Linked DNA regions of Homo sapiens: regions 1, 2, 3, 4, 5 and 7 are each linked to region 6. The links are contacts of gene promoters, found by promoter capture Hi-C in blood cells and fetal thymus (Javierre and others, 2016). All regions are on one chromosome and are shown on one strand. Each heading gives the region's core, a stretch centred on a gene start or on the middle of the fragment in contact. The rest is flanking DNA. Distances are from core to core; before and after follow the strand shown.

What was found. Contacts are between HindIII fragments. The CHiCAGO score rates a contact against its expected background, and 5 or more counts as called.
Region 1: a contact is called between the fragment with the promoter of IL17A here and the fragment with the promoter of TMEM14A in region 6, in 1 of 17 cell types (naive CD8 T cells). The highest score is 5.0, in naive CD8 T cells.
Region 2: a fragment that was not itself captured here is called in contact with the fragment with the promoter of TMEM14A in region 6 in 6 of 17 cell types (neutrophils, fetal thymus, M1 macrophages and 3 more); the score reaches 5.8 in neutrophils.
Region 3: a fragment that was not itself captured here is called in contact with the fragment with the promoter of TMEM14A in region 6 in 1 of 17 cell types (total CD8 T cells); the score reaches 5.4 in total CD8 T cells.
Region 4: a fragment that was not itself captured here is called in contact with the fragment with the promoter of TMEM14A in region 6 in 1 of 17 cell types (monocytes); the score reaches 5.4 in monocytes.
Region 5: a contact is called between a fragment that was not itself captured here and the fragment with the promoter of TMEM14A in region 6, in 2 of 17 cell types (monocytes and naive CD4 T cells). The highest score is 8.3, in monocytes.
Region 7: a contact is called between a fragment that was not itself captured here and the fragment with the promoter of TMEM14A in region 6, in 5 of 17 cell types (naive CD8 T cells, erythroblasts, megakaryocytes and 2 more). The highest score is 8.8, in naive CD8 T cells.

What each region holds. Positions count from the first base shown.
Region 1 is chr6:52,183,530-52,187,704 of GRCh38, reverse strand. It overlaps IL17A (interleukin 17A), which reads right to left and starts at 1,330. Exons shown (of 3, transcript NM_002190.3): 1 at 1,247-1,330; 2 at 1-102. The coding sequence starts at 1,273. The HindIII fragment of the contact is 1,880 bases long and covers 1,117-2,996 here.
Region 2 is chr6:52,378,725-52,382,899 of GRCh38, reverse strand. The region is part of intron 1 of PAQR8 (progestin and adipoQ receptor family member 8); the gene reads right to left. Among named protein-coding and RNA genes, the nearest start is that of PAQR8, 19 kb to the right of the region's middle. The HindIII fragment of the contact is 5,472 bases long and covers 1-4,175 here.
Region 3 is chr6:52,240,990-52,244,690 of GRCh38, reverse strand. IL17F (interleukin 17F) reads left to right here and starts at 191. Exons shown (of 3, transcript NM_052872.4): 1 at 191-294. The coding sequence starts at 262. The HindIII fragment of the contact is 621 bases long and covers 2,053-2,673 here.
Region 4 is chr6:52,330,239-52,334,047 of GRCh38, reverse strand. No RefSeq gene overlaps it. Among named protein-coding and RNA genes, the nearest start is that of PAQR8, 30 kb to the left of the region's middle. The HindIII fragment of the contact is 7,409 bases long and covers 1-3,809 here.
Region 5 is chr6:52,310,128-52,314,078 of GRCh38, reverse strand. No RefSeq gene overlaps it. Among named protein-coding and RNA genes, the nearest start is that of MCM3, 27 kb to the right of the region's middle. RefSeq lists a silencer at 3,717-3,786. The HindIII fragment of the contact is 1,829 bases long and covers 1,046-2,874 here.
Region 6 is chr6:52,668,771-52,672,976 of GRCh38, reverse strand. It overlaps TMEM14A (transmembrane protein 14A), which reads right to left and starts at 1,864. Exons shown (of 5, transcript NM_014051.4): 1 at 1,732-1,864. LOC730101 (a long non-coding RNA gene) reads right to left here. Exons shown (of 3, transcript NR_024405.1): 3 at 3,824-4,206. RefSeq lists enhancers at 2,000-2,159, 2,148-2,648. The HindIII fragment of the contact is 3,190 bases long and covers 537-3,726 here.
Region 7 is chr6:53,053,706-53,057,782 of GRCh38, reverse strand. All of the region lies in intron 1 of CILK1 (ciliogenesis associated kinase 1), which reads left to right. Among named protein-coding and RNA genes, the nearest start is that of CILK1, 6.1 kb to the left of the region's middle. The HindIII fragment of the contact is 905 bases long and covers 2,078-2,982 here.

The DNA.
Region 1 (4,175 bases), core at 81-2,580, 480 kb after region 6:
CCGGGGGAAGTTCTTGTCCTCAGAATTTGGGCATCCTGGATTTCGTGGGATTGTGATTCCTGCCTTCACTATGGCCTCCAGGCTCAGCAGCAGTAGCAGTGACTAGAATTGAATGGGAAAGGAGAGAGAGGTTGGAGATTAGATTACTATGTGGTTCTTTTTGACAAATTAATTGTGATGATGATGCATTGCTAATCATAGAGAACACACAATGTTCCAGGACAATCTATACTACATTTTTCAGATCAGCTAGAGAAAAATCTAGGTAGATGACCAACATAATGTTAACACCATGGCTTTAAAATTTTTTTAAAAAAACTAGTTTCAACATTCTCCTTTTGACTTAGGAAAGACATGTTATCCATTGGTTGGCAATAATTTTAATAAAAATGTCAAGTCATGGCATGTCATTAGCCTATCAGCACATGCATCATTGTCAGGTCTGGGAAGGAATAATAACCTTGATTTTCTAGGTAGAAATATCCTCCTGCACCATTGTTCTCAGTCCCATATTCTGTGAAACTCATCGTGAAGTCAAACATTCACATTGGAAGAAAGAGCTATAGAAAATCTATGTGGTATCAATATTCATGCTAGAAGTGCTGTTGGTGCTACTGGCAGGCATCCAACTAAAAACTCGATCTCCTTCATGTTTTCTTAGGTATATTTTCCAGTTGTTCTAAATTTAACATGTATTGATTCTGTAATAAAATCAGATTTCAAAAAAGATACTTGAAGTTAAATATTTAAAAAATATAAACCCCACTTATTCTAAAACACAGTTATACCTATGTTTAGTTAGAATACATAGTTTCAATGTACTGAGAATATGGTACGAGATAATGGAAACAAAGGTTGTTGCTGCTACGGCTTTCAAAATCTCAAGGATAGTGACCCATTTTAAAGAAAAATGCCGTGGGAGAATTATATTAAATCCTTTGTACTCAGAAAAACAGACTTTCAATAAATTTTCTTTCTTACTGCACAGCATCATGTGACACTTCTTGTGTGGTTTAGCCCCAATATAGCTATCTTTCAGTTTTAATCTTATCTTTCAAACTGCTGTGTATCAGTTCTTGAAAATGCTGCACAATGACTTAAATACCTACCAAAGCTTTCATTTCCTATCCTACATATACAGTATTCCTGGATCTCCATAGTCAGAACCCAGCGTTTCATGCCCACGGTCCAGAAATACTATCTGGTCCAAATCAGCAAGAGCATCGCACGTTAGTGCAGGACTCACCACCAATGAGGTCTTCCCAGGAGTCATCGTTGTTTCTTCCAATCAACTGGGGATGGATGAGTTTGTGCCTGCTATGAGATGGACAAAATGTAGCGCTATCGTCTCTCTTTTTATAGGGCTTTTCTCCTTCTGTGGTCACTTACGTGGCGTGTCGCAGTGGGTTCAGGGGTGACACCATTTTGGTTAAAATTTCCGCCCCCAATGAGGTCATAGAAGAATCTCTCCTTCTGAAGGAAAATGGGAAGGGCAGAAATTCATGTTCCTAAAGACCATGTCCTCTTTTCATTCTTACTTGTTAGAAGCTGAGCAGAGCTGCTATGCTATGGGTCAATATCATGTATTTATGAACATATGTACAGCTGCCAGAAGAGTTATGCTCTATTTTAATGGTTCATGAGGAAGAAAAAGTTTGAAGTAACATGTAGGTCTTCTGGTGTCATGTACCTTGATTTTCCATTTGATCTTTCTTTTCCTCACAGATTCCTTGGCCAGGTGTTGTGGAGACAATTCCGGAAACTACTCAAGTTCCCATCATATAAGTAAACAAAAAATGAAAAAAATATTTAATAATAAGATATATCCTATTTAATTGAATTTAACAATTCTTTTGTTGAATATCTACTCTGCTCAAGGAATAAATAACTAGGTTCAAGAGACACGAGATTTTCTGTTAAAGGCATGTTCCAACCCTGCATGCTACCAAGCAACTTGGTGTTTTGAGGAAGGAATTGAAAATGGGGATAGAGACTGGACAAAGGTGATGGAGATGGAGAAAAGGGGGGCAGGGGGGAGTAGAGAGTGATGAGAACTAGAAAGGAGAGGAGACATGATGGGGGAAAGAGAGAAGGAGTTAGCGGTTCTTTTCTCTGTACTCTAAGTAAGATGAACTTGGACTCAGGTCCTTGAGAATAGTTCCTTCTCAGGAATACAGAGGACTAGGACAAGGAAGGGCCAGTGGATATAGATGTGGCTGGCTATATGTCACCCTTCTCCGCCCCTACCCCCACTGAGGTGAATGATAACTCTCAGGCACTCAGCTGGTATCCCATATTCTACATGCTAACTCGGGGGGAGGCTGGCCAGTAGTTCCAACTCAATGGCTGGAGTGTAAAATTAGTTTGCCGGATCCTGAACCTGTTTGTCCTGAGATCCATTCCTCCCTGTCCTGCTCTACCTGTAACTCAGAGGGCTGACCCTGGAGGCTGCTTGCTCAAACTCCCCTGTCAGCTGGGTTTCAGCTAGGCTCAGCCAAAAGGGAATTGGAGGACAGATGAGTAAAAGTGGGAAGTGGAAAGTGGAAAGTGGGGAGAAGCCAGGAGCTTCCTTCCTCAGTCTCCCAGAGGACTGCTCACTCCCTTTGTCCCTGCAGCCTTCAAATGGTAACAGCTTCTTGCTGATGGCAATCTCAACTACCAGGGTGACTAGTTCTCTGACTTAAACTCCCTCTGTTGCAAATGCCTGAAGGGGCTTCTCTTTCCTGGCCAGATAAACCCTGGCTGATGAATGAGGGAGGCCATAAGCACCTGAATTTTAGTGGCAATAGTAGATATCCTTGATAGGTGAAGCAGATACAGATGGAGGAGGAGGTAGGATACAGCTTCAAGTGATTTCCGTAGTCCTGGTTTTGGCATCACTATCTATGTGCTTTTCAAGACAAGATTCAGAATGAGCCCTACTGCCCCTCCTCTACACACGACCAGGCAGCAATCCCAGAAGCTGCAGCATCTCTCACATCACCAATTTCCAAGCTTCCTCTAACTCACACTCTCACCCACTTGGATGAGCTATGCTTGCTTTTCCCAATTGCTTCCTTCAGACCATCTTCGACATGCTTTCAATAATGATTCTCAAAGCATGGCTCTAATTGTGCCTTTTCTTCTGCCATTAGCTTGCATACAGAATGAAGGGTAAGCCTCTTAGCATTTGAATTAATATTTGAGTTCGTACAACTTCCTTTCTAGCCTTACCCCCCACCATGCTCCAGGACCTGGGATGATGGGGTCCTGATTTTTCTCCAGGCCTTCTTTCAAAGCTTACCCACCCTTTGTTAAGGTATTGTTTCTGAAATGCCCTTCCCCATCCTCAGGTTATCAAAATGCTACTTGTCCTTCAAAATCCTGTTTAAATGTATCTCACAGGTCTGGCCTGATTACCTCAGTTGAAATAAATAGTTCCATCCATCACATGTAGCTTACACCTACCTCTCTAGTAACTTTTCTTTCATTTTGTAATGTGTTTCATTTGGCTTTAAAAGCTATGGGTAAGATATGTGTTTATTTCCATGTTTAGATTTTACTGTCAGCCTTCAAGGCTAGTATGTTCTTCAACTTTGTGACTCCTATGGTGCCTAATGTGGCCCTTTATACAACATGGGTCTTCACAGACTGCTTTTGTGTTGCTTGTTCTTCTCTGATACAGGGCTGTTCATGCATATTTCTAGTGTATTGCATGCCATTCATTTACATACTGACTTTCTTGTTTTCTTTGTAGCTCATTTCTTGCTAGACTACAAGCTACCTGAAGACAAGTAGTCTTATTGGTCTTTGTAGCACTTAGCATAGTGTCTAGTAAGTAATAGCTGTTCAACATTTTGATTAATTGACAGTATGAGTAATGTTATTTGAGAAGTTCAGAATTTTCTATATTCTTCTTAGAACCTACCTGCATCTCAATAACCCTACTGAGTTGTCTAGTGCCTTGGCTCTGCATTCTGATCCTTTTGAACTTAGTGTGATGAGGCTATAGCCTATTCAGGATCACCCTGGAGTGGAGGATTCCTTGTTGTTGCTTTCTGGCAAGGAAGAAGGAGGGGAGAATGTGCTTACTGTGAACTATTTTGATTGAAGTTGCAGGGGGAGAAGCTGACTCTAGCTGTTTTCCCTAGTCTTGCCTCCTGTGCCTATGTAATTCAGCCTGTGTGCTATGCTTT
Region 2 (4,175 bases), core at 547-3,046, 290 kb after region 6:
CTGCTTGCTCCTGGGAGATTGAGGCTGCAGTGAGCCATGATAGTGACACCGCATTCTAGTCTGGGTGACAGAGTGAGACCCTGTCTTAAAAAAAAATGGATTCAACTGAAACGTAGCTTCCTATGTCTACCCATTCCCTTCCCACCCTCCCCACTGGCAGTCTCTATGCATTGTGGGTGGTTTTCATTCCCACTGTTTTCACATGAAAACATTTTGAAATTATAGTTATATCTACATATAATGATACAATAAAACCACATGAAATTTATAAATAAGATTTTTTTGGATATTTTTAACCTTGATACAAATTTTGTACCTAACATTCTTCTTTCATTTAATCTACGTTTGTGTTTTTCCACATTAGTTGCTATTCTCTAGTTGACTCATTTTCTTTGCTGACTACTTCCACTGTATGAATATACCACAATTCTTTAGTTCATCCTCCTGTGGATGGACATGGAGGTTGTTTCTAGTGATTTGCTCCGACACCCTAGGCTGCAGTCTAGTCTTGCCCATGTCTTATTGGATATGTATATGACTAGAAGGGGATTCCTTTATAGACTTTTGCCCAGGTTGTTGCCTTTACCTGGAATAGCTTCCTGTCAGAAAACCTTATCTGTCCCTGAAGGCACTTCTCACATGCCAATTCTTCCATGACTTCCAACTCACCTGGTCAAAGCAATATCTTCTTCCATCCATTCTCCTGCATCCTCCAGTTTGTATCACTTAAATGATGCTACCATATACAACCTTGTTCTGTAGTTACCTGAGTATTCCCAAGTAGGCCATAAGTTTCTTATGGGCAAGTATTGTGTTGTATGGTACCTCCCTGCTTAGACCCTAGCACAGATTTTTGCCAGAGTGGCCCCTCAACAAACATCTGTTGAATCCACTAAACTCTCCTTTTGCTACCAAGTACTGCTATCATTATCTAATGATATATATCTTATGACAATAATATACACCTAATGGCTGCTACATTCTCATGTGTTATTATTTATGTATTTTCATGGGGCTCTCTAATGTATGTGGGAGAAACTAAATGTTTAGGGTATACCCTGAGCTCAACAACCAGCTGAGGCTAAATGCCCATAGAGAGCTGTGTATGCATAAAGATAAAGGAAAATATTTCTCCTCCTTTCTTGTTAAATCACCCAAAATATTACATTTATGCCAGTAATTTTATAAGAATTGTGTTCAGAACTAAAAGAAATCAAACATTGGGTGGATAAGAATGTTAACAAAAATTGGAGTAGGGGGCAATTTCTGAGATTGGTGCTGTGCTTTTTTTCTTTTCTTTTGAGATAAGATCTCACCCAGGCTGGAGTGCAGTGGCACAGTCATAGCTCACTGCAGCCTCAACCTCTGGGCTCAAGCTATTCTCCCACCTCAGCCTCCTGAGTAGTTGAGACTACAGGCACTTACCACCACACCTGACTAATTTTTATACTTTTTGTAGAGCTGGGGTTTCACCATGTTGACCAGGCTGATCTTGAACTCCTGGGCTCAATCATTCCACCCGCCTTGGCCTCCCAAAGTATAGGGCCTACAGGCCCGAGCCACCGCACCCAGCCATTGCTGTGCTTTTTGAATCCACCAATGCTTGTTGCCATTAGTGTAGAAAGGACTTAGAGAGAGAATCCGTTTCCTCTTCCCCCACCTAGTTCCTGTCACCTTAGCAATTATTCTATAAATGTGGCCTGGCAAGAGAGTTACAAACAGCCATGTGTGTTCTGAGTTGCTGCTAGTGTTGTAGCTTTAGAATTCTTGACCAGAAGACAGGATTGGGGAAAAGCAAAGGTGCCTGTCCATCCATAGATATTAATTTCCCCACAAAGTTCAGTGGGAGGAGGAGGGTGGGGGAGATTTTTTCCTGTTCCAAAGTAGAGATTTATGCTCAGTATACTTCTTTTTATTAGACCTAGAAAAATGAGGTTAAGAAATTATATGTGGAAAAATCAGTTCAAGTATCCAAGGATGCAAACCTCTTTCAGTTTGTTCGTGAGTACAAAGTATTGGCTTAAATGATAGCAAGTTGATACCTGTTTATACCAGCCTCATAAATTTGTAATAAAACATGTCCAGGTCACAGGATTTTTATAAGCAGCTCACCATTCCATGCCATATGATCCATCAAATAAAGAATACATGAAGTAAGGATTTTTAAGCTGCCCTCTTTAAGTTGACAGGAAGGTCAGTTGAAGCCTGGAAAATCCTAGTCTTAATGAAGGCGTTTAAAACTCATATTGAAAAATGTACGTTTTCTCAGCTCCCAAGGCACCACAACTTCTCAGGACAAACAACAACATGCAAATTTTGGAATAACTAAAGAAATCAAACCCTTGGTGTTTGTTTCTAGGTTATAGGTTGATTTTAGAAAAGGCCACATATAAGAATAACCATTTGTCCTTACTGTAACATAACCTCAAGTCTCAGATGATATCTGATTATAATCTGTGAAGTGCTACCTGACTGCCTGGATTGTTTTTCCAAATGAGTTGAAATGTCCACGTCCACAGCTGCCCACGAATATGTACTTTAAAAGATATACACAGCTTGATTATTGACTGAGCATTGCCATACCACGGGTGGACCCTGGCAGATTTAGACACAGATTTTAATAGTAGCCAAGAGACAAACAACTCCTTCCAGTCTTTGCTCAAATCTCACCTCTTCAAGGAGGCTTCCCAACCACCCTATTGATTTAATACCGCATTTCTACTCTCCCTGGCATTCCACAACACCTAACTCTGCTCTACTTTTTCTTTGTTTTCCATAGTACTACTTATCACCTTGTGACTTAACATGTTATTTTCTGCTCACACTTTAAAAAAATCCAGGCCGGGTCGGGTGGCTCACGCCTGTAATCCCAGCACTTTGGGAGGCCAAGGCAGGTGGATCTCATGAGGTCAGGAGTTGAAGACCAGCCTGGCCAACATGGTGAAACCCCATCTCTTAAAAATACAAAATAGCGGCCAGGTGCGGTGGCTCACGCCTGTAATCCCAGCACTTTGGGAGGCCGAGACAGGCGGATCACGAGGTCAGCAGATCGAGACCATCCTGGCTAACACGGTGAAACCCCATCTGTACTAAAAATACAAAAAAATTAGCCGGGCGCGGTAGCAGGCGCCTATAGTCCCAGCTACTTCGGAGGCTGAAGCAGGAGAATGGCGTGAACCCGGGAGGCGGAGCTCGCAGTGAGCCGAGATCGCAGCACTGCACTCCAGCCTGGGGGACAGAGCGAGACTCCATCTCAAAAAAAAAAAAAAAAAAAAAAAAAGAAAGCTGGGTGTGGCGGTACGCACCTGTAATCCCAGCTACTCGGGAGGCTGAGGCAGGAAAATCACTTGAACCCAGGAGGCGGAGGTTGCAGTGAGTCGAGATCGCGACACTGCACTCCAGCCTAGGCAACAGAGCGAGACTCTGTCTCAAAAAATAAAAATAAAGTAAAATACCTAACATAAAATTTACCATCTTACCATTTTAAGTGTACAGTTCAGTAGTGTTAAATCAATTCACAGTGTTGTGCAACCGATCTCCAGAACTCTTTTCATCTTGCAAAACTGAAACTCTGTATCCATTAAACAACTCCCCATGGCTCCCTCTTCCCAATCCCCTGGCAACCGCCATTCTACTTTCCGTCTCTATGAATTCAGAGAACACTACTCTAGGTCCGTTATATAAGTGGAATCATACAGTGCTTTCCTTTTGTGACTGGCTTATTTTGCTTAGCATAATATCCCCAAGGGTCATCCATGTCATAGCATGTGCCAGAATTTCCTTTTTTTTTTTTTTTTTTTTTTGATAAAGAGTATTGCTTTGTCACTCAGGCTGGAGTGCAGTGGCACGATCTTGGCTCACTGCAATCTCTGCCTCCCACGTGCAAGCAATTCTCCTGTCTCAGCTTCCCGAGTAGCTGGGACTACAGGCGCCCACCACCATGCCTGGCTAATTTTTGTATTTTTAGTAGAGAAGGGGTTTCACCATATCAGTTAGGCTGGTCTCGAACTCCTGACCTCAGGTGATCCACCCACCTCAGCCTCCCAAAGTGCTGGGATTACAGGTTTAAGCCACCATGCCTGGTCAATTTTCTTCCCCCCCTTTTTTTTTAGACAGAATCTTGCTCTGTCGCCCAGGCTGGAGTGCAGAGGCCCAATCTCAGCTCACTGCAACCT
Region 3 (3,701 bases), core at 1,114-3,613, 430 kb after region 6:
AAATTTGGTCCTTTTCCTGTCATCCCTTTCTTTAGGGTCCCCCTTTTGTTCCCCTTCGGGAAATGGAATAAAAAAAAAAACCCCTGCATTCGTCAGTAACTCCGGGTCAACCACAACTTAAAGACAGTAAGCAGGTCAATCGAAACAGGGGCAATGATTGCTATAAAACTAACAGGTACTCTCATTGATAGAACACAGGCATACACAGGAAGATACATTCACAGAAAGAGCTTCCTGCACAAAGTAAGCCACCAGCGCAACATGACAGTGAAGACCCTGCATGGCCCAGCCATGGTGAGTAGCAGCAATCATTCTGGTTTAAGGACTGTCATGCCTAGGATTTCAGAAAACAGAATCCTAAGGAATTAGGTTTGATTGGGGTCTTTTTGGAATTACTTCTTAAAAAACAGAGATGACTTTAATTTTGACTCCTGTCTGGTGGAGAAAAAGAAAAAAATAACTAGAAAAGTTATAATGGCATAAAAATGCAGCTCCTGGCCAGGCGTGGTGGCTCATGCCTGTAATCCCAGCACTTTAGGAGGCCAAGGCGGGCGGGTCACATGAGTTCAGGAGTTCGAGACCAGCCTGACCAACATAGCGAAACCCGGTCTCTACTAAAAATACAGAAATTAGGTCGAGCCTGGTGGCTCACGCCTGTAATCCCAGCACTTTGAGAGGCTGAGGTGGGTGGATCACTTGAGGTCAGGGGTTTGAGACCAGCCTGACTAACTTGAAACCCTGTCTCTACTAAAAATACAAAAATTAGCTGGGCATGGGTCAGTTGCCTGTAATCCCAGCTACTCGGGAGGCTGAGGCAGGAGAATGGCTTGAACCTGGGAGGCGGAGGTTGCAATGAGCCAAGATCACGCCACTGCACTCCATCCTGGGTGACATAGCGAGACTCTGTCTCAAAGAAAAAAAAATGCAGCTCCTCACCCAATGGCTTTTGCCCAGGTGGTGTTAGTGTGTGCCCAGGTGGTGTTAGTGTGTGCAGTCCTTGGCATCACAGACAACTAGCATGTTCTTTCCTGTGGCCATCCATTATAGAGTCAGGTTGGCCTGAAATTCTTATCTCATGGTGGGAGCTTGGCCAGCACTTTAGGGATTATGTACATATACATTTTAACCAAGGAAACTGGGGCCTCAAGAGGTTTAATGATTCCCCTGAGATTACAGGAGTGCCCTGGATGGAAGAAATGAAATCACCCAGTGTTGACTTTGGACAGCTCCTAGAGAAGGGAAATTTCCCATGTCTCTGATTGCTATTTATTTATTTTGTACCATCTCATTCTTCTTGGAGGAAAGAGAGATGTTAATGCAATGAAAATCTAGCCCCAGCAGGTCTGGAATCTTGCCTGACATTAGTCAGATAAGGCCTGAGAAGAATTTACTATAGAGGTACATGAAAACAGGGGTTAGGAAATCCCGCATCATATTATTGGCTTAGATAATTTCCTTTTTTTCTCCTTTTACAAGCCATACAACTTAAAAGAGCTTGAATATCATAAAAGGTTCATGGCATATAGCAATGGTATGTTTTATTTTATATTTATGTGTTATTTTAAAGATTACATGTAGCTCAGCAAAGTGCCATATTTAGGGGCATAGGCTTTGATGTCAGGCAGACCTGGCTCCACTGCTTGCTAAATGTAGGATTTTTGGGTAAGTTATTTATCTTCTCTGTGCCTCCGTTTCCTCAACTGTATGGTGGGGATAACAATGGCATCTTTCTCATGGCATTTATTGGGAGGATTAATTAATATCTTTGAGAATAAATGAGTCTATACTCTGTACTGGCAGATTTGTGTATGCTTAATTTTCAGTTAATTTGGCCATTCTAATAAACAACGACTGATAATGATAGAGAAAGCATTCAGTAAGTGTTAACTGTTCATATTAATATTGTTATTATTGTCCTGGAAATTCTGATCAATCCACTGAAGTAGATGGGAATACTTTCCACTTTATACAGATGAACAAAAGCTCAATTAAGCTATTTATTTAACATTGCTGGATACTGTAAGCACAAGAACTGGTACACCAATCTAAGCTTTCTGTCTCCACATACAGTATGCTTTTCTTTGGTTCAGAGGCAAGATTTGTGAATTTAAAGCCATTGCATCCAAGCAATTCTGTTGGGTAGCTTTGTGCTCCATAGCTATTTCTAATTCTAGTTTCCTTAAAGAAATCTGTTGGGTTGTCAGCAAGAAACATAACAGTGCAAGGAGCATTGGAATAGGATTAGAAGTTGAGAGGTGCAGGCAGATAGGACATCTTCAATAAGTAGTTGAGGCAAATTCTCATGGACCTAGAGGTTGGCCAGGTGCATGCTTACATGTGTCCACACATTGCTGGTGAGTATAGAGGATGGATGTTCAGGTTGCTCAGGTGAGCTCACATTAGAGTGAGGTGCAAAGCTAGGCTGAGAAGGTTGTTGTCCTGTTACAGCTCACCTTCACCTGGTGCTTTCCCTTGCCCCTGTCCCCTATTATACAGATTGAGAGCGATATCTATTCATCTGCTTTATAGGTGGCATATAAGAGTTCAAGTCATGCTCTGGATTTCTCTGAGAGGTGCTGTTTAAATCATTCTTAAGAACCAGCAACAGCCTGGTTCAGAGCCCCTGCTCTGTATTACATAACCACTAAAATCTACAGTTTCAGATCAAAAGCTTTGTGGAGCAAATTGGAGTATTTGCAGACATCATCTGATTTCCTGATAACGAGCTATGTGACCTACAACACTTATGCACATCTAGTACAGCTGTCACATTACCTAAAACACTTAGCTCTTCTAATGAGACAAAACTAAGATTAATGTTGGTAATAATAAAAATGACCTTCAATGACAATAGCACTGACTACTGACACCTAGGTTTGAGTCCCCAGACTGGTACTCATAGGCTGGTGAACCCAATCAAGTTATTTATTCCCTCTGGGACAGAACTCTTTCACCTGTCTAATTGGGATAATTAATACTAGCTCTGATTACCTCACCAGGTAGTTGTGAAAATCCAGTGTTTAAAGAGATGTAAAAGAATTTTCTAATATACTCTAAGAATATATAAGCAAATGTAATAATGACTTGTTAGAAGCATTGTAATTATTGCTAAGTCATATAACTCCAATGTATGTATTTAAAAGTTTTCATAATGAAAATTAATAGTGATTCAGTGAGTATGACACAGAAGAGGAAAGAGAAAACACAAAGGAGGAATTTACTTAAGAACCCTAAATATGTGATTGGTAGGCTTGGGAAGTTATCTAAGACCCTCTAATATAAGTTGGCATCTTTTAAAAAAAAAGTCATAGCAGGCCAGGCGCGGTAGCTCAGGCCTGTAATCCCAGCATTTTGGGAGGCCGAGGTGGGCAGATCACTTGAGGTCAGGAGTTCAAGACCAGCCTGACCACATGATGAAACCCTATATCTACTAAAAATACAAAAAATTATCAGGTGTGGTGGCGCACGTATGTAATCCCAGCTACTCGGAAGGCTGAGGCAGGAGAATCGCTTGAACCTGGGAGGCGGAGATTGCAGTAAACCAAGATTGTGCCACTGTACTCCAGCCTGGGCGACAGAGTGAGACTCCATCAAAACAAACAAACAAACAAACAAACAAACAAACGCCATAGCAGTTTGTCAAGACAAGGTATATGAGTGTAAATTCCACATCTGTCTAGTCCACTGTGTAGCACAATATA
Region 4 (3,809 bases), core at 604-3,103, 340 kb after region 6:
ACCCTACCAACTCTGTAGCACAATCTAGTTGTCAAGGAACCCAAAACATTTGTGGTTTAATGTGTGACCTTTCTCACAGTGTTTTCATCCTGATAGGCCTGTTACATTTTGCTTTCCTGTGCATTTTCTCATTTGGCCAGCAACCCTGTGAATAAAACACTCGTGAGCATTATCTCCCAAAAGGTATTTTGGACCACTTATGAAATTAACTGTCATCTTCTGAGAGCTTGCTACCTGCCAGTCACTGTGCTGAATGCCTTACATACCTCAACTAATCGTCATAATCACTGTGAAGCTGATACTCTTATCCCTAATTTCCAGAGGAGAAAGCTAGGTATACATAACTTGCCCAAGGTCACACAGCTAACTAGCGGCAAAATCAGGATTAAAGCCTGGGTCTGACCAAGTCCAAATCCTGTGCTCTTATCTCTTTCACCATTCTGCCTGTGCAGAAGGCAGGACAGGTATTAGTATGCCTGTTTTCTTTGTCTTTTCTTTCTTTCTTTCTTTCTTTCTTTCTTTCTTTCTTTCTTTCTTTCTTTCTTTCTTTTTCTTTCTTTCTTTCTCCTTCCTTCCTTCCTTCCTTCCTTCCTTCTTTCTCTCTCTCTCTCTCTCTCCTTCCTTCCTTCCTTCCTTCCTTCCTTCCTTCCTTCCTTCCTTCCTTCTCTCTCTCTCTCTCTCTCTCTCTCTCTCTTTCTCTCTTTCTCTCTTTCTCTCTTTCTCTCTTTCTCTCTTTCTCTCTTTCTTTCTTTCTTTCTTGAGACGGGGTGTCACTCCATTGCCCAGGCTGGAGTGCAGTGGCTCAATCCTAGCTCACTGCAGCCTCGACCTCTTTAGCTCAAGCAATCCTCCCACCTCAGCCTTCTGAGTAGTGGGGACTACAGGTATACATCACCATACCCGGCTAATTTTTGTATTTTTTTTTAGAGATAGCGTCTTGCTATGTTGCCCAGGCTGGTCTTAAACTCCTGGGCTCAAGCAATTCTCCCACCTTGGCCTCCCAACGTGCCGGAATTGCAGGTGTGAGCAGCTGCACCTAGCCATATGCCCATTTTCTAAAGAACTTTTTCTCTTTTAAAATGGAATTTCAGAGAACTATTTCACAGAACTCCCAGTGGCAGAGTTGGGGCTAGAGCCCCTTTAATAGATGACGACAGAAGAAAAATTCCTACCTCCTGATTGGGCCACCATGTAGGCTTCTAGGCACAGTAATAGGAAATGTAAAAACCTTCCTGTACCTCTCACATCATGTAGTCAGCACCTGACTCTTACTTCATAAATTGAGTCCACGTGGGGCGTGGTGGCTCACTCCTGTAATCCCAGCACTTTGGGAGGCTAAGGCGGATCGATCACAAGGTCAGGAGATCAAGACCAGCCTGGCCAACATGGTGAAACACCATCTCTACTAAACATACAAAAATTAGCCGGGCGTGGTGGTGTGTGCCTGTAATCCCAACTACTCAGGAGGCTGAGGCAGAGAATTGCTTGAACCCGGGAGGTGGAGGTTGCAATGAACCGAGATCACGCCACTGCACTCCAGCCTGGGCCACAGAGCGAGACCTGTCTCAAAAAAATTAAGTCCAAATAAAATGGAAGACTCTCCTCAACCACCTGCAATATGGCTTCCTCCCCTGCCACTCCATGAAATGGCTCCTCTCCACATCATCTTTGACCTCCTGGCTGAATCGTTTTTACTTCATATTTGTGTCTGTCTTGGCCTCTCTGCAGTGTTTCATTGCTTATTGAAACTCTCTTCTGTCTTGATTGTAGGGTAGCAGCCTGTCCTGGTTTTACTGCTACTTTTCTGGCTTCTCCTCAGCTTTTTCTCAAAGGCTCAGGTTTCGCTGACTACATTGGTCATGGTTCAGGTGCAGAAAGCATAGCCTTCCCTAGCTAGTTTAAGCCAAAAAGATTATTGCAAGGTATTAATTGGCTTACAGAATCAGTGGGAGAGCTGAAGAAGTGGATTTGAGGCTGAATTACTAGGAACAAAGTCACACTCAGAACTGAGTTGCCAGGGGAGTTGCTGCTTCTGCCACAGTTAGGGAGTGTCAGCTGAGCTAGCAAACTCACAACCTAGGGTTGCTGTGCTCCGCACAAGCAGAATAGATGCTTCCTGCCCTGCCCGCCTTGTGCCCCAACAACTCATTCAACTCTGAATTTGGAGTCTTATGTCAGTGTGTCTAATTGTCACAACCTAAGTCACATCCTTAGAAACTCTACCTGGGGAATTTGGAAAATGTAGTTTTTGGCTTCCCAATTCTGCAGTATGGGAAGGCATACTCAAAGGAGATTGAAATAGACATTGAGTCACTCAGTCAGTTAGGTTTTATTTTTTTTTCCTGTTGCAATATACCAATAACAGATAATATTCACCATGCATTACTCACTCCCTTGACTTAAATTCTGATGCAGTTTCCTAAAATTTAGCTGGAAAGTAAAGCATAGACCACAGACTACTCAGGGAAGGGGTATTATATTCATAAAAACATTTTATAAACATGTGAGTAAGTAAAATATTCACTTAATGATATACCTGTCCTATGAATGTTTTCTTCCTTTCTATTTTTTCTCTTTTTTAAACTAAAAATGTAATTATTGGAAAACATAAAGATAAATTGGAAATAAATATAAAGTTATAAAGAAGCACTACAATACTTAAATCTCCATTGGTATTAGAGGTTATATAGCGTTCTTCTCTAAGAGCTAGGACAAAGACAAGCTGGAATGTGAGTTATATGTGCTATTTCCTCAGCTCTGGCATTAACACCATTCAAAATAATATTTAAAAGCAAGTAGCAGGACGGGCATGGTGGCTCATGCCTGTAATCCCAGCATTTTGGGAGGCCGAGGCAGGTGGATCACGTGAGGTGGGGAGTTTGAGATCAGCCTGACCAACATGGAGAAACCCCGTCTCTACTAAAAATACAAAAAATTAGCCGGGCATGGTGGCACATGCCTGTAATCCCAGCTACTCAGGAGGCTGAGGCAGGAGAATCTCTTGAACCCGGGAGGCAGAGGTTGTGGTGAGCTGAGATCACACCATTGCACTCCAGCCTGGGCAACAAGGGCGAAACTCCGTCTCAAAAAAAAAAAAAGCAAAAAACAGGTAGCTGAGAGTGCTGTTATTAAAGGCATAGCCTGGTACCTATTTTAATTTATGTAAAGCAAGTCATTCACAATTTTAATTCTTTATTATTTTCCAGTTTTAAATACAACGTATATAGAAACAATCCCCATGTATGGGTGTGATTACCACTGTACCTTGCCATTCTGCATGCAAATCTGATTACATCATGCCTTGCTAAATAGCTTTCAGAGGCTCCACACCCCATTGAGATAAAGAGTAAGTTCCTCCAACTAGCATTTCACACCCTGTGTGAAGTGGCCCTTGCTCCAGCTCCTGCCATGTCTCCATATCCACACTCCATTCCAGCCGAAGCAAACCAATGACAAGTTTTCCAATGCACCATGCTCTTTTCTGACTCTGGCTCTTTGAAAGTATTGATCCATCTAGAGAGATTATCTTTCTCCCACTCTTGCCTTCTGAGAACTCTAAGAACTCCCCCAAGATACAGTTTATGTGTCACCTTCTCCCAGAAGCTCCGCCTGAAATCACTCTCAGCCCATACCCAACTCCCAGGCTGAATTAGGTGCCCTCTCCACGCCACCCTCCCCTCACCCTTCACTTTCTCCAAGGCTCCCTCAGCACCCTCAGCCATAGCACACTATTGTTAACTGTCTATTTACATATTGGTTCTTCCCATTAACTGGTCTGATTTTTAAAGTTGGAGGTTGATTTTACATAA
Region 5 (3,951 bases), core at 711-3,210, 360 kb after region 6:
ATTTTTTTTTTTTTTTTGTATTTTTAGTAGAGACGGGGGTTTCACCATATTGGCCAGGTTCGTCTCGAACTCTTGACCTCGTGATCCGCCCACCTCGGCCTCCCAAAGTGCTGGGATTACAGGCATGAGCCACTGTGCCCAGTGGGAGTGACATTTAAAATGAAGAATGGATAGGAGTTAGGAAGTTGAGCAAATGGTAGCAGGAAAAGTATTCCAAGGAACAGCATCTGCAAAGGTCCTGGGGTAGGAAGGAAGAAACTCAGTGAATTTGAAGAACTGAAAGAAGCGAGGGGAGGCAAAGGAAAGTGGGGAAAGATAAAGCTGCTTCTTACCAACTAGACTTTGAACTCCTTAGGCCCAGGGCCCCCATTTTATCTTTTGTGAATCACCCCTCACTCCCACCCTAAGTACTGAACACAGTACTTAACACATGGTATAGCAATATGTTAAAGGATTTGACTACCTATTTAGTAGCATGATGCTACTAAATCATCAAGAATGATGTAAGAAATTAGAACAAAGCATAGAGTAAAACAATCAAGCAGAGCAGTTTTAAGACTCCAGTAGGTCCCAGGCATTTCTAATCTCAGAGGCTCTGCTACCCCCACATAGTACAAAATATATTGAACCCACATTTTACATCAAACACCACGTATATCACCACATAATTAGAGTAGAATTGAGTTGCAGTTAATTAATTTTCATCATGTTAAATTTATGGACATTTAAAGATACATATATTAATTTTGATTTTGCAAACTTTTTTTTTTAATGTCATTCTCCCCTCATCCCTGAAAGTCTCAGACATTTTTGTGGACCTAGAAAGAACTGTAGGTCCAGGAATACTCATTCTATTTTGTAGAATGAGATGTTGCCTGATTCCAGATTTGCCAATAAGAGCCAATTAAAAATAGAAGAAATGTAGGTCCTGAGCACTTTGCCTAATGGATACAAGGCCCAGCAATCAAGGGCTAAACTGGAAGGAATAAACAACAAATGCTAGAGCAATTCGGGGAGAGGAGGTATCAGTAAGGGCAGGAAAGCTTACGCGTCATATCTGTTAACCTGTTGATTTGCCTGGCCAAGAACTGCAGCTCCTAGGAAGCAGAGGAAGTAAGGGGACACTGTAGTCTGGGCATAACTTGGACCCCAAAGTTTCTCCAAGCAGAAACTAATGGGGTCAACTTGAAGGACTAGAAGCCTAGGTAAAAGTATCCATGCCTTCTTTCTTTTTTTCACTATGCCCCAGAACTGAGCAGACCTGTATCTTTTCAAAGTTTGGAGTACACAAGAATGGACACTGTCAGATGTTATGAAGGCAAATGTCAAACCATTCAGGGAAAAATCACAGATCTGATTACATGGCCTGAGACACTAAACAGGAGGATGTCTCCAGAGAATAAGAGAACTGTCAAAAACTGAACACTGAGGATACAATGAACAATGGGGAAGGCAGGAAATTGAGAGCTGGAGAGACCCATCAAGCTGAAATGCAAACTCATTAGTCAGCTCAGATTTGAAAAATGCCGCATTGAGAAAAGAGAATGTAGATGCAATGAAGGTGGCTTAGTCTGCTCAGGCTGTCATAACAAAATGCCATAGACTTTTCGATGGCTTAAGGCACAGAAATTTATTTCTTACAGTTCGGTAGGCTGGGAAGTCCAAGATCAAGGTGCTGGCAAGGCAGGTCTCATCCTGAGGCCTCTTCTCTTGGCTTGTAGGAGGCTGCCATTACTGTTTACTCACATGACCTCCTGTTTGTGTGCTGGGGCTATGGTGGAGTGAGCTCTCTGGTGCCTCTTCTTATGAGGGCACTGACTTCAGTGTGACAGTCCCGCTGTCAGACTTCATCTAATCCTAAGTACCTCCCAAAGGCCCCATCTCCATAGACCATCACATTGGGGATTAAAGTTCATTGCAACATATGAATTTTCAGTGGACACTATTTAGTGCATAGCAGAAGGATACACCTAAAAGACGGACACCTAAAAGAGGGACTTTCAGGACAGCTGACAAAATGGATAAAGCCAAGAATGAGCTGTTTGAGAAAAATAAGAATTTTTTTTTTAAAGGCCATGTAATATTGCAGAAAAGAGTAGGAGCATTGGTTACAGACAGACCTGGGCTGAATCCTGTTTATTAACTGTGTAGCCTTCGATAAGTTACTTAATATCTCTGAGCCTCAGTTTCCATAGCTGTAAAAGGAACATTAAAAACGTATCACAGGGTTGTTGTAAGGATTAATGAGATAAAGGGTTTAAAGTACTGGCACAGAGAAAAGGCCTTCTAAAGGTTTTGATGGGGGATGGAAGGTACAGGCATGTTGTTGAGGAGCGAATGGGATGGTGATAGGTGACAGGGAGAAGCTGGTTCATGCTGAAATGTGCTGGCTCATGAGTACCACTCTCGCTGAGCAGGAGGTAGGACTGGGTGACTTCTCTAGTGCTCTCCAACTCTGAAATCCCATTAATCCCCATATCTATGAGGAAGCAGATCTGTTCATCTCACCTGCTTTGTTGTTACTATCCATTCGTGCTCTGCATTTTTACAAATATTATCTTATTCAATCTTCACTACAACCTGAAACCTAATAGTAATAATAATAGCGATTATTATTCCCATCTTACAGATTAGCAAACTGAAGTTCAAAGAATTGGATAACCTAGCCCAAGATCAGACCTTTGGAGAATGAAAGAATCTGGATTTGCACCCGGAACTTACTGGCTTCCACCTCTAAACACCAGCTTCCCTGTTCCAACTTTTCTAAAGTTGAATGTTCTTCATACAAATATCAGCAGGAAGACATTGAGGCACAAAATAAATGGGGTATTGTATGAGAATGCCTAGCTTTCAATGAGCTTATGTCTCCAAGCTTGGACAAATTCCGGCTGGGGTACCAACAGAATTTATATATGAGAAGACTGTTGGCAGCTTTTCAGGGACTGTGGGGCCGGGGAGAGACGCCAGAAGACTGTGGCTGGGTACACACTATTCCATTTTGTGAAAAGGGGAAGAAGGTTGATTCTGCAAACCATAGATGCCAGAGTCCTGGGCAAAGTTCTTGAAGGGCATCCTATAAACATAAAAAAAGGGAAGTCATTGCTAGGCACCAACAAGTTTTCATTGAGAAGAGATTATTCCAAATGAACCTAACTTCCATTTCTCATAAGGTGAAAAATTGGTATGGCTTTATTTAGACAATACATTTTGCTCATTTTCATGAACCAGTTGAAAAATCTATTTTGTAAAAAAATTAATAAAAAATAATAAGACTGTTTCTATGAGAAATATAATTTTTTGGTTATTCATTTTAAAAATTTGATGTAATTACAGATTTACACATGCTTATAAGAAATAGTACAGAGGCCAGACACAGTGGCTTATGCCTGTAATCCCAGCACTTTGGGAGGCCGAGGTGGGAAGATCACAAGGTCAGGAGATCGAGACCAACCTGGCCAACATGATGAAACCCCGTCTCTACTAAATATAGAAAAATTAGCTGAGTGTGGTGGCATGCACCTGTAATCCCAGCTACCCAGGAGGCTGAGGCAGGAGAATCGCTTGAACCTGGGAGGCAGAAATTACAGTGAGTCAAGATCATTGTGCCATTGCACTCTAGCCTGGCAACAGAGCAAGACTTCGTCTCAAAAAAAAAAAAAAAAAAAGAAGTAATACAGCGAGCTCCCCTGTACACTTAGCTCAGTGTCCCTAGTGGTTACATTTTGTAAAACTGTAGTATGATAGTACCATCAGGATATTGGCATTGACACACTCACTGATGTTGTTCCAATTTCCCCAGTTTTACTTGTATTCGTGTGTGTGTGTGTATGTATTAAGTTTTATACAATTGTATCACTTATGTAGTGTTACCTATCCACTATTACAGTCAAGGTACTAAACAGCTCCAACTGAATAATCTTTCTTAATGGGGGAGATAGAACTTTAAACCTT
Region 6 (4,206 bases), core at 615-3,114:
ACCCACATAAGCCCCGTAAAGGGAGTCTGGTTCCGTCCTAAGGGCAATGAAGGATCACTGAAGGGAGCCTCACAATCAGATTTAAATTCCAGCAAGCACTTCCCAGTTGCAGTAGTGAAGATGGGTTGTGAAGTGAGGCAGGGAGATAAATCGGGAAGCTGTTGCAGTAAAGTAAGCAAGAGCTTAGTTGATAACGGTAGGCTTATCTAGAGAAATGGCAATGAGAATGGAGAGAAGGTGGACAGATTTCAGAAGTTCAGGAGGTAGAATCAGAATTGAATTTGAGGCGGGAAGGGAAAGTCAGGGGTGAATCAGAGATGACTCACCCCTAGGTATCTGGCTTAGACCATTAGGAGAAGTAGGGAGTCGGGGAGCCTCATGCTATTCCCTGAGACAGAGAACATGGGAACAGCAGCAGGTGTGTGGCGGTGGGAAGAGGGAGGTGGCTAGGAATGATGGGACCTGTTTAGAATGTATTCAGTCTGAGACGCCCAACACACAGTCCGGAAAACACCCTTACATACAGATCTGAAGCTTATGAGAGTTCTTTCATTATCAGGTGTAACTTCTAGACCTAATTTTCTCCTAAAGCTAAGTAGCTGTTGTGAAAGATTAATTCCACTCCATCCTGAGCCCCCCAGCTCTTCCTGCGATCTTCTCTTGAGGACCCATACCCTTTTACTTGGTTGGGATTCTCTCAACTCTCAGCCAGCCAAGCTCCTTGAGGGCAAACCAAGGTTCAGTTTATCTTTGTCCTCCTCACAGCACCAAGAACCCTGCCATGCACAAGGCAGGTACTTAAAATACTTGTTAAATGAATAAATGAGTGAGTGAACCAAAGGAACAGCTTCTGCCTGAAGACATTCTGTAACTGACCTACCCAATACAGCTTTATTGCCAGGAAACAGGTAGCCCCTTAATCTCCTTAGCGAACTGACTGTTGTTCTAAAGAGGCAAAATAAATCTACTCCCAATGCTTGCAAGAAGATTCTGTTCTCACAGAGAATATTCAGACAAAAGAATCACCTATTCCATGACGGAGCCATGTGGCCAGGCCAGAAGCACACATTAAAGCCAGAGGCTGTGTTAACATGGAAGGGATAAGGTGGGAGAGGATGTGCACAGCACATCACACGCTCTCATCACAAATGTGATGCTCAAGCCTTGGAAGGACTAAAACGCATCTTGGATGCAATGCAGCAAAACGATTTACCATACCAGGTACAAAACAAGGTGACAGGGGACAGCCTCGCTGCCCGCCCCAAATCCTCCAAAATTCGGAGAATTAAGAGATTTTCGGTGAACTGTTACATAAAAAGCATTTTCACATGCTAAAGATATAACAATTACCTACCCTTGAGCTCTTGGAGGGCACAAAAGGCACATTTTCGAGTGGGGTCTGGGTGGTGCTGAGAAGGTTAAAATCCTGCCAAGCATTTTGCAATGGTCCATGAGCCCACCCCACCACCCCAGATCCAGGAAGGTAGGAGGCAGGATAGGTGGGATATTTAGGGATACCAGAAGGCAGAAACTCGGGAGGAGGAGAAAAATGATACCGCGGAGGTAAGACCGATGCCCTGCAAAATCCCCTCAAGGTCCTCTGCATCATCGTTTGCTGTACAGGTTTGGCGCGGGGGAGGGGATGCCCGCTAAGCAACGCCCCTTATATTTCTGCAGTTTTGTAAGAAAATTCAGAGCAGGAAGGTCTCCATTGCGGGATGCACAGCTCACCTGCAGCCCCGAGCCTTCACTGCAGCTGAAAAGACAGAAGTCTGGGGCCAGCTGCCGCCAAGCGCGGTACCTGGAGTCCGGAAGCAGTCTCCGCACCAGCGCTGTCCCACTCGGCGCCCAGCCGTCTCGCGCTGAGCAAAGGCCGCTCCCTCCTGGAAACGCCCTCCCTGCCGCGCGCATGCGCTGTGTCCCTTCTCGCCTTGCAGGACTCCACCCGGTCCATGCCCTCCGGCTGAATCCGGGCGGCCTGTAGGCCAGGCAGCCAGGAGGCCCTGTGCTGCAACATCCCGGCGGCAGCCGGACCCGTTGCTCCGTCTATCCTGCCTTCGGCCCTGTCCTGGAGCCAGGGCTGGGGTTTGCTGCCTCCCGCCTGACGGAGCAGGACTGGCAGGAAGCGTGTTTGCAAGAAGCCAAAATTACAGAAGGCGAAGATTTTTAAATTAACTCCATTCATCTTTCAAGGGACATTTCCAGAACCTCCAAAAGGCAACCCGAGGTCTTCTACACACCCTCCAGCAGACTGTCCCCACTGTCAGTGGAGGGAGCTAAGGTTCAGTGAGGTCAAGTGACTTAGTTGTCCCAGGTCAAAATCCAAGTTTGCCTGGTGTCAAAGCCCAAGCACCCTTCATTACACTATGGGATCATCTAGATGTGGTTGGGAGACGAGGATCCTAGTTTTAAACTTCAGGCCCAGGATTTGCTGGGTTTAGATATCTACTGGGAAAGGTATAGAATTCCAGAGTTGGAAAGCACTTAAAACCTTGCCTAATGCAAGGCAATCCGCTCAATCCCAGGAACGAAACTTAAACTGACCTTATTTTTTTTTTAAATACAGGATCTCAGTCGGTCGCCCAGGCTGGAGTGCAGTGGCACCATCCCGTCTCACTGCAACCTCTGCCTCCTGCCTCCTGGGTTCAAGCGATTCTCCAGCCTCAACCTCCCAAGTAGCTGGGATTACAGGTGTGTGCCACCTCACCCGACTATTTTTTTTTTGTAGAGACGGGGTTTCACTGTGTTGCCCAGGATGGTCTTGAATTCCTGAGCTCAAAGCAATCCTCCCGCCTCTGCCTCCCAAAGTGCTGGGATTACAGTTTAAATTGACTTTAAATTATGCCTCCCTGTAGCAACTTATCATCTCAATCTTCTGCCTTCTTGATTGAATACAGAACTCCGACCCTCTTCCTTATGTAACAGCCCTTTGGAGATTTGAAGAAGGTTGTCATAGTGAAGTAGCTCTAGAGGTTCTGTGTCACTGAGAATTACAGCGGAATTCCTCAGAATAAAAAAGGAAACTCAAAAATTAAATCTTGTGAAGTTTGTTTGCTACATCTATTCTTTGTGCATAAAAGTGCTTCAGGGAAGTAATATAACTACATCTAACTTATGAAAGTCTAAGTTGGTCCTGGGGAATTAATAAAATTCCTGAAGATTCACAGAAGAGTTGATGGCAAGGCACTGGAATGTGGCGTGGAGAAAGTGATAGCCTGAAATTTGGTTCTGAGTTCTCTCAGCCCTCCTTTCCATCCCCTTCTATGCCCATCCTTACCCCAGCCTCCTCACCTTCTCTCCTCACACTCTCAGAACACTTACCCTATTTGGAATAAAACTAAAATCCTCTTGGAATACTTCATTATCTTCATCTGATGTGACCTGGGTAAATAACTCCCCTCTGGACCTCAGTGCCTGGATTTAAGATATGGACAAGACTAGATGCTCTGAGATCCCTTACACCCTATCACCAACATACTCGAAGCTGGAAACAGCCTCATGATATTCCTACTCAAGGCGTATCACCTAAAACTAAAGAAAAACTCTTTGAATATTATGGGAATTCCATACCCTTGAATATGTGGGAACAGGATGGTTCTTAGGCAAAGGGACCACTGCCCTCTCAACTCATAGGCACCAGCTGCTGCCTTCTCCAGCTAATGGAAAGGCTGCAGCCCAAGGTAAGGATGCAGGAAAGCCTATTCCCCTCAACTGTTTTGTAAAGCTTTCTATGCATGATCCACAGCAGAGACTCTTAACTTTCAATGTGTCACCAACCTCTTTGGCAGTCTGGAGAAATGCACAAAATAAAATACACAGGATTGCAAAGGAAGCCAATTTTATTGAAATGCAATTTCATTGAAATCAAATTCTTAAACATTTAAATCTGTCACATAATAGATGTGCTTCTTTATTAACATATTAAAGATTACAAGACCTAGGGGGTGGATCTAATTATTACCATAATTTCAGAGTGGTGCTGTACATAAATATTTTAAGATATCTGTAACGTGGATATCTGTGATTCCTAGTGATGACAGAGACACAGGTACTAATACTGCTGTGGTTTGTTGCCTATTTTCCTGATGGAAATAAATAAAAACTTTTTTCCATCGAAGTTTTCAGATTTCCTGATTTCTATCCTCTGGCCCCTTTAGATTCACAGATTCCAATTTAAGAACTCCCAGTCTATAATAATGCAAGTTT
Region 7 (4,077 bases), core at 1,281-3,780, 380 kb before region 6:
TCTTCTTAGTTGGATCTCATCTGTAGAGTGAGAATGTCAAGTGATCATTAAGGTCCTTTACAGAAAAAAAAAATTCTTAACTCTATTGTCTGAAGTTTGTTCAACATTAGGCTTTGAACATAGTTCCTAATGAATTTAGCATTCAAATCTATGTTAATTAGCATTCAGTTATATTTTATCTTTAAATAAGCTCATCATGGCTGCTATAAAAGATAATGCCTCTGAACCAAAAGATAAAGTATTATAAGTGTGATGTCCAACTATATTTGACAATATCATGAAAGTAACTATCTGCGTGAACTTGTAGTTCCTAGCAGATGATTGTCATCCTAACTCACTTTTTTTGAAATGAAAGGGCCACAATAGTGCCTTGCTTTTCATTTGGTGCTTTTCCCACCATGTCAAGAACCCTTAGTAGCCACTTAATAAATGTATAACGATGGCCCAGAGCTTATGAGAACCACACGTTTTTTTAGGAGAGATCAGTGTGAGTTATTTTTTACCTTTCTATAGGTGAAGCATGACCTGTGATAAAGTATTGATAACATGTGACTGCTCTTTTGACTACCATAAAAGATAATGCCTGAGAACCGGAAAGGAAAGTACTATTGTATAATGCCCAAATACGTATTTGGCAATATCATGAAAGTTACTATCTGCATGAACTTGTGGTTCCCAAAAGATAGTTATTAATGGTTTTGCCCTCTTGGACATTGCCTTTGCTTTGAAAGAGAATTTACTAGAGAATGATTTAACTAAGACAAAGGGGAGTAAGAAAAATGTAAGATATACATGCCTTCATGTGATCTTAGCTGTTGAAAAGCAAGTTTTTTCCTAAATTAGTGTAAAAGTTTTTAGAAGGAGTCATAATTTTGGTACCCTAGTCCCAGTACAGTTGTCCAGTTTGCAAAGAAGTGGGGCGTGACGGGATGACAGTGAGGGTGGACGTGGTAGTATAGGAAAATCATCTATGGTCAGGATTGCCTTTTAAAGCTCCATAAGTTGTTCATTCATTAGTTAATTCATTGAACATGTCTTTATTGTGAGTCCGTACTTGTGCCAACTATGCCAGTTCTCTGGGAACTGAGTACTGGGAATACAGTTGTGAATATTGCAACGTTTCTGACCTCACAGAGCTTATATTCTAAGGTTAAACACAGCTTGTATGTAGCCCTGTAACCTAGGGGTAAGTGAGGGCTCTATGGAGAGTACTAAAGTGCTTCTGCTTATTTGGGGGATTTCCTCATCTTCAGGGCTTGACAAACTATGGCTTGTGTGCCAGTCCTTCCTGCTGCCTGTTTTTGTAAATAAATTTGTACTGGAACACAGCCATGCCCATGTATTTACATATTGTCTTTGACTGCTTTCATGCTACAATGGCAGAGTGGAGTTGTGACGGAGATGGAGAGCCTGCAAAGCCTATCCTGTTTACTGACCCTTCACAGAAAAAACGTGCTTATCCCTGCCCTATTTTATTTTTACATTAAGCCTTTACTTCCTTTAATTCATTTTGATTTTTTGTATACATGCTAGCAAAGCATCTTACACTGAGATCAGCTCCTTAGTCAAATGTGTTGTAATAGCATATAAATACTGATAACATGTGGCTGTCCTTGTAACTACCGTAAAAGATAATGCGTTAGAACCAGAAAGGTAAAGTATTATTGTGTAACGTCCAGCTACTTATTTGCCAGTATCATGAAAGTTACTATCTACATGAACTTGTGATATGCTCTTAGTCACTCCCCTATCTTCACTATCCCTTATCTTGCCCACCCCTGAAACACAGGCAAGCAGGACTATTGCCACCCTCGGCAGTTTTCATTAAGCTGGGGACTCTCGTTCTAGCTCATCTACAGTTTCACACATGGCAGGGTAAAGGTTTGTTTTTCTGGCTGTTTTTTTATTTTTTATTTTTTTTAACATTTCGCCTTTACTTCAGTTCTTTACAGTCCACCAAAGCCAACTATGTGTCCTAGTTTAAAAATCATCTGCAAGTGATTGAAGAACTTTTTTAAGGTTCAAGGCGTGAGCACCTTTTATATTGTAAGAGAAGCGACAGGGAGTTATGGAAGCTTCTCATGGGATTAAGGACCTAGTGCAGGACGAGTTCTTTTTTCAGAAGCTGGGATTGAAAGAGGAGAGGGATGGTAAAGGTATGAAGAAGTTTCTGGGGCACAGAAGAAGGCACATCATGTAACGGATTATCTTCTCTTGTTAACATCCAGTTGATGCAATAGCTGAATGCATCTTTAATTCACTCCTCTGTCAAGGTAAAGACAAAGCAAGATCCATGTAAAGAAGGTCCTTTTGGCTTTGTAACTGCTATTCCTTATGCAGAAAAAAAGCAGTAGTCCAAGAGGCAAAATGCTTAAAAGGTTTGCTTGCTAAAATGTACAGAGGCAGAAGAATTAGGTCCAGGAGAAAAACATAAACCCGGATATACTATTTCTAGTACCTTTTTAAAAGAAATTAACAGTATTCACTGACTTTTGTAAAGTTAGGACACATTCAAACCTAGAATACGAAGTCTAATTATAAACCTGTAAAGGTAAAATGGAACTCAGAATTACCATGAGAAGGGTCATCTAATGATTTTGCATATAATCCACTTTTCCTAGGAGGATAAATGAAAGTAACAGAATCTTTTCAATGTAAGATAATTAATGCAAAGGGAGACAAGCTCCTTCTAAGGAACTGAATGGTGTCAGTGGGCCTGGTAAACCACAACTCCCAGAGAACCCCAAGTTTGCTGTAACTTTTTGTCTCCTGTCTTAGAAAATGTGTAATGATGGCATTAATTCATTGATTAAGGTTTCAAAATAAAGAATGAACTACAATTTTCCCTGCCCCTCGCCTCCATTTTTTAGGCTGTGAATGAGCAAGGCACCTGATGTGAGCTGCTGGCCATGAGCAAATGTTCTTTGCCTCCACCGAGGATTGACGCTGAGGGGAGGGAATTGGGGCAAATCACAGGAAGCTTTTCCCCAATGTCACCTAGCCAGGAACATCATAACATTGACTTCAAAGGTTTGCTGGAACTCTTTGAAAGAGAGATAAAGCTGTCTTTCTTTGGTAGTTGAGTACAGCCTTACCCAAAGGCCAAAGGCCTGATCTGACCGCATGGAGGGGGACTTTCTGTGATCCTCTGAGACTCAGTCATCTTGGCATTGTTGTGGGAGGGCCCAGGCTGCCTGCCTGCCCCAGCTATTCTGTGGTATTCACTGTTCTTCCACTTCAGAACTTCAGAACTTTTAGTTGGGCCCAACAGTTTATCTTTGTTTTGTGTATGACAAAATAGAAGCACTGAGAATTTTGAGGTACTTAGCCAAGGTGGTACAGAAAATAATAGCAAAGACTAAAACTCACATTTGGGCCCTTCAAACAATCTTTGAGGACTTGCTACTGCAAGTGGAGTGAGAAGACAAAGATGAAGCAGTCTTGGAGAGTGTCGAGGCTGAAGCAGAGGGTACACCTGCAGGTCATTGCCACGGGGAAGGGGCTGGCAGTGAGGTGAGGACAAGGCACTATGGCATCAAGGGAGAGGACCATTCTCGGGTCTATATGTGTAGGTTGGGGCAGGAGGCTTGGAAGAGGTGACATGTGAGCTCGAAAGAGAAGGAATCGATGTTTAATGTTTACTGGGGCCTGGCTGAGGCACTGGGGCACTTGTGCATCTCTTGAAAGAAAGGTGTGTAGCATACAGGGTCCTTCGGTGGCACTGTCTTCTCCGCTAACCTTTGTTCATGTGATGCAAAAAGCAGAAACATTTATCCTTTTTTTTTTCTTAGACAAATGCTAGCTCAATTCCTGATACAGAGTCACAGAATCACACAGCTTTAGAGGAAGAAACCACCTTAGAGCAAGTCCCATGCCCTAATTCCACCAAAAGTAAACTCAAGGACCAAGAGATGCCCCGAGGCACAGCAGATCAGTGCTGAGTGGAAACTGGAACCAGTCCCTCACTTTGCCTCCACTGTGGGCATGTTGGTGCTGCCAATGGCTCCAGAGGATTCGCTGATATTTGATTGCAGAATGAAGACAATTAGAACATAGCCATATCATTCATTTTCATAT